Regions from separate parts of the Homo sapiens genome. Here region 2 is linked to region 1. The links are contacts of gene promoters, found by promoter capture Hi-C in blood cells and fetal thymus (Javierre and others, 2016). All regions are on one chromosome and are shown on one strand. Each heading gives the region's core, a stretch centred on a gene start or on the middle of the fragment in contact. The rest is flanking DNA. Distances are from core to core; before and after follow the strand shown. Region 1 holds the start of ZNF572 (zinc finger protein 572). Region 2 overlaps LOC105375743 (a long non-coding RNA gene).

Evidence for each region. Contacts are between HindIII fragments. The CHiCAGO score rates a contact against its expected background, and 5 or more counts as called.
Region 2: a contact is called between a fragment that was not itself captured here and the fragment with the promoter of ZNF572 in region 1, in 1 of 17 cell types (M1 macrophages). The highest score is 6.8, in M1 macrophages.

The regions. Positions count from the first base shown.
Region 1 is chr8:124,971,404-124,975,545 of GRCh38, reverse strand. ZNF572 (zinc finger protein 572) reads right to left here and starts at 2,251. Exons shown (of 3, transcript NM_152412.3): 1 at 2,130-2,251. RefSeq lists an enhancer at 2,149-2,308. The HindIII fragment of the contact is 4,233 bases long and covers 193-4,142 here.
Region 2 is chr8:124,846,292-124,850,433 of GRCh38, reverse strand. All of the region lies in intron 1 of LOC105375743 (a long non-coding RNA gene), which reads left to right. Among named protein-coding and RNA genes, the nearest start is that of MIR4662B, 26 kb to the right of the region's middle. RefSeq lists a silencer at 2,033-2,327 and enhancers at 2,033-2,327, 1,472-2,671. The HindIII fragment of the contact is 1,100 bases long and covers 1,182-2,281 here.

The DNA of each region.
Region 1 (4,142 bases), core at 1,002-3,501:
TTCCCAACCATTCCAACACAACAATAGGAGGCATAGAATGTTCCATGAACCATACCGAAAATAAGAAACACAACTTTTAGCAGCCCTTTTAGAAAATCTTATCTCAGATCTAAGTGTTTAGAATTAAGGGTTAACCCTGAAATAACAATGCAAAAAAGTAAATCTTCACATTAAAGGTCTGAGGATCAAGCTTCAAAGACAGAATACTAATCCTCATTGTCCACACGTAGCTTAGAAACACTTTTACTTTAAAAAGCAAAGTATTTTTTTTAAGACACCAATAATAAAACTTATAAAGACTTCAAGGAATCAATATGAAGGCATAAGCAGCAGCTAAAGAAAAAAAGCACCCTGTTTAGTTTCAAAAGAATAACTTGGTCTTGACAGAAGGAAACCTTTGAAGTCAATTTCAAAGGAAAGTTAGGATTTATATAACCAGTAAAGAGAAATTAGGACAAAGCCGAGGTGGAATAATTATAGCCAATAACCCTGCAATATAAAAAGGAGGCTAAAGAGGGACCTCTTCCTCCTTGCACTTAGTTCCTAAGTCTATCATATTCACAATATCCATTTCAGCCTAAACTTCGTCTTCTGGAGCCAACAATCACTAACCTATTTTAAGGGACTAGAAAATGTTCCATCCTGGCTAATGCGGTGAAACCCCATCTCTACTAAAAATACAAAAAATTAGCCGGGTGTGGTGGCGGGCGCCTGTGGTCCCAGCTACTCAGGGGGCTGAGGCAGGAGAATCGCTTGAACCCAGGAGGCAGAGGTTGCAGTGAGCCGAGATCGTGCCATTGCACCACTCCAGCCTGGGTGACAGAGCAAGACTCTGTCTCAACAAAAAAAAAGAAAAAAGAAAAAGAAAAAGAAGAAAATGTGATCTATCACAGGAAGGCAGTGACATATGGACTTTTGGCATCCATTTCAGAATATAAAGAGTATCATTATTTGGGAGAAAAATAAGGACGTAAAAGGATATACAAATGCACACATTTTAAAAACAAAAAATAGTATATGTACTTATATTGTATCTTCACCATTACTGCCTATTATGTGCCAGGTAGTGAATGAAATAATTTGCACACATTTGTCATTTAATTCTTACAGTAGCCCTCTGAAGTGTATGAACAACTACCAGCATTTTATAGGATGAGTTTGAAAGGTATTAAGAAACTTTCCTAAGGTCACCTAGAAAGTGGTAGAGCAGGACTGAGCTCCAAGTCTGTTTGGATGCTGACCTTTTTCACCCTCTGATCTATTATCGTAAACTAGAACAGGAAGCAGAGCTGGGCATAATCCCAAACTGCAAAGAATCCTCAGAGTCCCTTTATTTTAGAATATTTAGAATACTGGCATTTTAAAACAGAGGTCTACATTCCTAAACCTTGTTAACAAAGTGAGTCGACATTCCCTAAGCACACTCAGCAAGTGGGGATTTGTTCTAGAGAAACGTGAAACTAGTCTACATTACTAATATCCCCAGTGTTTGAGTTGGGGGGGAGAAAAAACCATACACCTGAATGCAAAAAAAGGAAGGGGGTGGAGTTGTTCGAATGGAGTTATATATTTTGCTGTCCTAAGTTACATATTGTTATCAAAGTATTTACAAAAGCAGCAAGAGTCTGGGCAACACATTACCATCTCCCCCATTTTCCCTACTAAAATACTATTAAATTTGGCAGCAAAGGAGCCCCCGGAACAGTGGCTCAGCAAAATGGTGGCAAATGCAAGACCATACAAGGCTGCCATTAAGATGTCTCTCCACGGGGAAGGAGTGTTTTCACTGTTCTAGAGCAACAATGTGATCAGAGTGGGGCCGTGCTTTGATCAGAAAGCCTTCAAAGAAAATGCACTGCCTGAAGCCTAGTTTTAAGAACCGCTGGCTGGTACAAGTTGGAGACGCTGGGGGGTGAAGTTCCAGGATACCAGACGGTCTCCGGCCGACAAGATCCCGTAAGGGACCCCGCGGACAAGGATGACGGTGGCCCGTCGGCGGGAGATGCTGGGCCTTCGCCCCTGGCAGCAGCGGGAACTCTCTCCCGGACGTCCACTGCAGCCTGGACGGGGCTGTTTCCACTCCTCTAGCCCGCAACCCTCGGCTCCCTTCCCCCCAAGAAGGAACTCACTGTTCTGGGTGCTACACCCAAGGCGCCCTGCACCCCCAGCGGTCCGGGAGGAAGGTACCCCCTCTCCCTCTGACCCCACCAACCCAGGGTCCTAAACTCTCAAACCCGGAAGGCAGAAACAGGAAGTTACCCTCATCTCCCCCGGCGGCTTTGCTGGGGCCGTTCTAGGAAACAGTGATGGCCCACTCTCGTTGATCTTAACCCTTAGGGTCCTGGACCAGAAGGAGCGTGGGGGTGGATTTCCTTTCCCTGTGCTGTGACCAGCCAACTGTGAACCTCATTTCTCTCACTTGTCAGGCGGCTTACGACAGGGGCCTGATTGGAGCTTATACTTTTCCTTGCCATCAGAATATCATCAGATTAATTATCATCACTATTAGAATCAAAATCAATCTAGTATTTTTCTTTTTTGAGACGGAGTCTCGCTGTTGCCTAGGCTGGAGTGCAGTGGCGCGATCTCGGCTCACTGCAAGCTCCGCCTCCTGGGTTCACGCCATCCTCCTGTCTCAGCCTCTCGAGTAGCTGGGACTACAGGTGCCTGCCACCATGCCCGGCTAATTTTTATATTTTTCGTAGAGACGGGGTTTCACCGGGTTAGCCAGGATGGTCTCGATCTCCTGACCTCGTGATCCGCCCACCTCGGCCTCCCAAAGTGCTGGGATTACAGGCGTGAGCCACCGCGCCCGGCCTCAATCTAGTATTTTTAAACACCTATTGTTTCTGTTCCCACCGCTATGAACATGGATATATATTTACTTACCTGTGAAAGTTAGAAAGCTAAGGCATCCATTCACATATAAAACAATTCGTTTACAAGGCACCCTTATTAACACCTAGAAAAGTAGTTAATCCCTCCTCTTTCATTACAGAGAAAATAGAAGCCAATCCCTTCATCTCACCTCTACCAAACAGAAATCTACTCAAGTCTGCACCCTGCCGTTTTCTTTCTTCCCTCCTGTTACAATACAGAGTCCCTCTGTGACCTTTTTTTTTTTTTTTTTTTTTTTTGTGATGGAGTTTCACTGTGTCACCAGTCTGGAGTGCAATGGCAGGATTTCGGCTCACTGCAACCTCTGCCTCCCGGGTTCAAGCAATTCTCCTGCCTCAGCCTCCCAAGTAGCTAGGACTACAGGTGTGCGCCACCATGCCCAGCTAATTTTTGCATTTTTAGTAGAGACTGGGTTTCACCATGTTGGCCAGGATGGTCTTGATCTCTTGACCTCATGATCTGCCCGCCTCAGCCTCCCAAAGTGCTGGGCTCTTTGGTATTTTAATAAGCCCTTTACTGGTACTCACTTTCCTACCTATCTTCTTGGAAACTTCGCACTACCAACTAAACTCTCCATCCCTCCACCCCCATCCCCAAATAGTCCCTCAGCTTTTCTTTTCTCTTTTTACTCACAATGTTTCCATTTCATCAATTTTCCACTAACCTTAACATTTCTCCTGCAACAACAACAACAAAAAAATCACTAGCATCACCAATGACCTCCATGATGTTAGTTAGTGCAACTGGTATTTTTAGTTCTCGGGTCCTTTTTCAGGAGGTTTGATATGGCTACGGACTCGTCTTCTAGAAACACTCTTTTGAGGTGACATCACATTCTCCTCCTTTTCTTCCAACATCTCTAGTCAGTCCTGTTAGTCTCTTTTCCAAGTCAGTCCCTCAAGATCATCCTCTCCTCTTATCACTGAATGTTCTCTGCCTAGGCAATCTCATCCACTCCCACATTTTCAAATACCACCTAGGCAGACAACTCAAAAATTTACTTCTCCAGCCCAAGCTACATGTCTGAGCTCTTCACTCATAACCAATGGTCTATTTGGCATCTCATACAGGAAGTCTCAATAACACCTCAAAACCAAAATGTCAAAAATCAAAATCATAATCTGTCTTCTCTCTCACTGTTCTTCTCCATATACACATATAAACACAAAATAAAACAAAATAAACCTGTTTCTCTTCCAATATTCTTTCAACCATCCATCCAGTTATATGGAAACCCAGAAGCC
Region 2 (4,142 bases), core at 482-2,981, 120 kb after region 1:
TAGAAGAACCTTGAGGATATTATGCTAATTGAAATAAAGCAGTCACAAAAAGACAAATACTATATGATATAGCTGGAGTGGTCAACTTCACAAAGACAGAAAGCAAAATGGTGGGTGCCAGAGACTGGAGGGAGGGGGGAATAGGGCGTTATTGTTTAAAGTGCGTAGAATTTCAGTTTGGAAAGAGGAAGAATTCTGTGGATGGTGTAGTGACAGTAGCACAACAATGTGACTGTACTTAATGCTCCTGAACTGGACATTTTGAAATGGTTAAAATGGTAAATTACATGTATTTTTATATATAATATATATATAAGGTACATGATATTTATATTTAACAAAACAATTTGTTTTAAAAGAAAACAATACCTGTTTTAAAGAGCTATGAGAATGAAAAGAGACTGTGTTCATCTAGCACTTAGCACAGATCTGGCATGCAAGAAGTACTGAATGGGCGGAAGCAATACTTGTTATCCCTACCATTGGTCACCGCTGTGCGTTGCATCTGCCGTGGGTATGTGGGAGACTTCAGGCCTCACATCTATCACAGGTGGGGAGTTTCTGTTGTCTTGCCTGCTTCACTGGGTGGTTGTGATGAGCAAAGGAGGTCTTGTGTTGAGATGCTTCATAACCTTTTTTTTTTTTTAAAGTGAGGCTGGGCACAGTGGCTCACGTCGGTAATCGCAGCACTTTGGGAGGCAAAGATGAGAGGATTGCTTAAGTCCAAGAGTTTGAAACCAGTCTGGGCAACATAGTGAGACCCTGTCTTTACAAAAGAAATTAAAAAATAAGCCAGGCTTGGTGGTGCAATACACGTGGCCCCAGCTACACAGGAGGCTGAGGCAGGAGGATCGCTTGAGCCCAGAAAGTTGAAGTAGCAATGAGTTGTGTTCCTGCCACTGCACTCTGGGTGGGGTGACAGAATGAGACTCTCAAAAGAAAAAAAAAGTGGAGGAATGATTGATCAAGGTGTTATTAACACATTTCTTAGCTAGCTGAACTTCTTGTCTGTCTTCTCTTTGCACTTCGTATTTATCCTATCACTGCACTTGTCACCTTCCCCGGTGGTAACTTCCTCAGGCCTCTCTCCCCCTCACCTGTCATGAAATCCTCAGGCAGGATCTTCCTCATTTCCATATTCCAGCACCCAGGCCAGCATCTGCACCCACACAGAAGAAGCTTCATTTATTTTTGCTGATCTCAGCTGTTCTGGAGACTTGAAACAACTTTTTAGATGATTTTAACCAGAAGAACTTCTGAGGACTGAAGGCAAGAGGTTTGGTTCTGCTTTACAGATTGGCGTCCCCCCCAGGTGCAACTGACCCAGTAAATGTGTAATTGTCTATACCTGCGCAAATGCAGGCTCCTTGATTAACATGCATCGCCCTCTGGGGAAGAAAGGGAAGGGAAGGAAAGGGAAGGATAACTCAGGGAAAGTAGGAAAAACTCTCCTGGACCTCCCAGGAAAAGGTGACTTCAGGACATGGGCTGCCTGGTTGTTTTCAATGGTTTTCATTATTTAGTTTGAGCTCCTGGGGAGTAAATGTTTCTCAGGCATATTTTGGGGATCTAATTCTGGAGTCCTTGAGCTCGAAATAATGCAATAAAATACCTGCTCCGTGGAAGTGAAAATGGCTGCTTCGCAGGCTACCGAAGCTCTCTGTGCACACCCTTCACAGACAGGAGCTTCCAAGAGGTTAGGTAAGGTGTCCAAGGACTCAGAGGGAAAGTGTCAGAACCGGGACAACAGCATACAGTTCCTGGATAGGAGGGATCCCACAACCTGACTGACAGGCTGAGTGTTGCGATGAACTGAGGAACAAAGGCTGCTTCTCTGGAGCAGGCAGGCAGTTTGCATATTAAAGTACAAAGTGTACTGTAATCTCAGCTACTTGAGAGGCTGAAGCAGGAGAATTGCTTCAACCCGGGAGGTGGGGGTTGCAGTGAGCCGAGATTGCACTACTGCACTCCAGCCTGGGGGACAGACAGAGTGAGACTCCGTCTAAAAAATAAATAAATAAATAATAAAAAATACTAAGTGTATTCATCCTAGAGTTTCTGTACCTTTCATGATGGTTGAAGCAGCTAACTTTTGGACTGAACTTGCCCTCCAAACTCCAGACCAGAAATACCACCTATTTGTCATTCTTCCTTTTGACTCATACTAATTCCTCAGCATGTCCTACAGAAGGGAGTGTTGATAAGCCATGAAAAAGAGGAAGAACATATGATGAGGTAGCATGAGGGGCTTTCTTACTCACCAAATGTAAAGGAACAAGCTTACTCAGCCAGTCTTAATGATTAGCAAGGGACTTTCTCAAGGAAGAAAAGAAAATGGCCGCCACAGTGCTTTCCCCTCACAGTGCACAATTTGCCAATGAGTTCAAAGTGTCTCCGTAACTTCATGCCATTTCTTCTGGTAAGGTTTGGGGGCAGTCAGGGAGGGGTGGTAATTAGTGTTAGATGGGCATACCGAAATAAGGCATAGAGAGGATAACTGGTTTGTTCAGGGGCACACGGCAAACCCATGAAGTCAAACTCAAGTGGCGTCAGGGAGCGCTCAGGCTTCTTCCTGCCTCTAGAAGATTTCACAAGGCCAGGAAGCCAGCAGCCCTAGGGTCAAGTGAAGGGGAGGCAGCTCTGGGACCCACCCAAGAGCAGTTTCTGGTCAGGCATTCCTGGCAACTTGTGGTACCTCGGTCCACCCACGCCTCCTCCACGATGAAAGCTGATAGGCAAGGCCAACGGTCCTCTGGGGCCAGGCAGTGCCTCCGGCCTGGTTTAGGGGGCACTGAGAGGTCTCCCTTCTAAAAATATCTCCCTCCCTTTTCCTGCTGTGGAAGCTGAAGTGGTCACATGCAAGGCTTACTCCCGTGGTTTGAAGCATTATAGTCCCAGTAGATCTGATTTAAAAAATAAATGCCATTATGAGTGGACCAAACAAGTATTACCACACCGTAACATGGGACTTGGCATTTACTTATACCTCTCTCTAAATCCAAAGAAGGATTTGAGAGTATCACACATTTATTTCTCAGATGAGCCAGCTGAGGGAAACAGACCCTGCCCTGGCAAATCCATGGGGCAGCTAGAGAAAACCTTAACTCTACCTAGGACATTTCACTCTCCTGCCCAACACACGCCAAAGCTTCCCGTTGCACCTTGAAAGGAATCCAAACCCAGGATCTTCCCAGGCTCTCCCTGACCCACTCAGGCCCTTGCCTGACTTGCCTCTTGCATTCCATACTTGTTCTCCCGTCTTGTTCTTCACACTCCCACTTCACCTCGCAAGTGCAGCTGTCCTTCCTCCCACTGGGACTGTACGAGCTGCCCCTTCTGCTGGTAAACCTCTCCCCTGTGCTCCTGGTTCCTCTCTATCCCTTAAGCCTTGACTTGAAATGCCACCGTTTTTGTGGCCTCCCTGACCGTGCCACCTAAGGAAGGGGTTCTCTCTTGTCTTTGAAAATATGCTGCTATTTTCCTCCACAGCATTTCATATAATTTGAACGTGCGTGTATGTGGGCACAGTCTATCCTCATTATTTGCAGGTTCTGTATGTGTGAATTTGTCTAATCCCTAAAATGTATTTATAACTCCAAAATCATCACTTAAACCTCAAGGTCATTTGCAGACACATGCAGAGCTGCAAAAGATTTGAGTCACCCAATGCACCCATCCCCAGCTGAGATCCAACAAGGAGACACTTTGCCTTCCTGTTTCTGCTCTCATGCTCTCAAACAAGTGTCCTTTTCATGGTCAGTTTAGTGCCAAACATTTATAAAACAATTTGGTGAAAAACATTTAGGCTGGGCATGGTGGCTCATGCCTGTAATCCCAGCACTTTGGGAGGCCAAGGCAGGTGGATCACAAGATCAGAAGTTTGAGACCAGCCTGACCAACATGATGAAAACCCATCTCTACTAAAAATATAAAAATTAGCCTGGTGTGGTGGCATGCACCTGTAGTCCCAGCTACTGGGGAGGCTGAGGCAGGAGAATCATTTGAACCTGGGAGATGGAGGTCACAGTGTGCCGAGATCACACATTGCACTCCAGCCTGGGCAACAGAGAGAGAGAGTTAAAAAAAAAAGAAAGAAAGAAACAAAGAAGAGAAAAACATATAGAAAATTTTTTTTTTCAGCT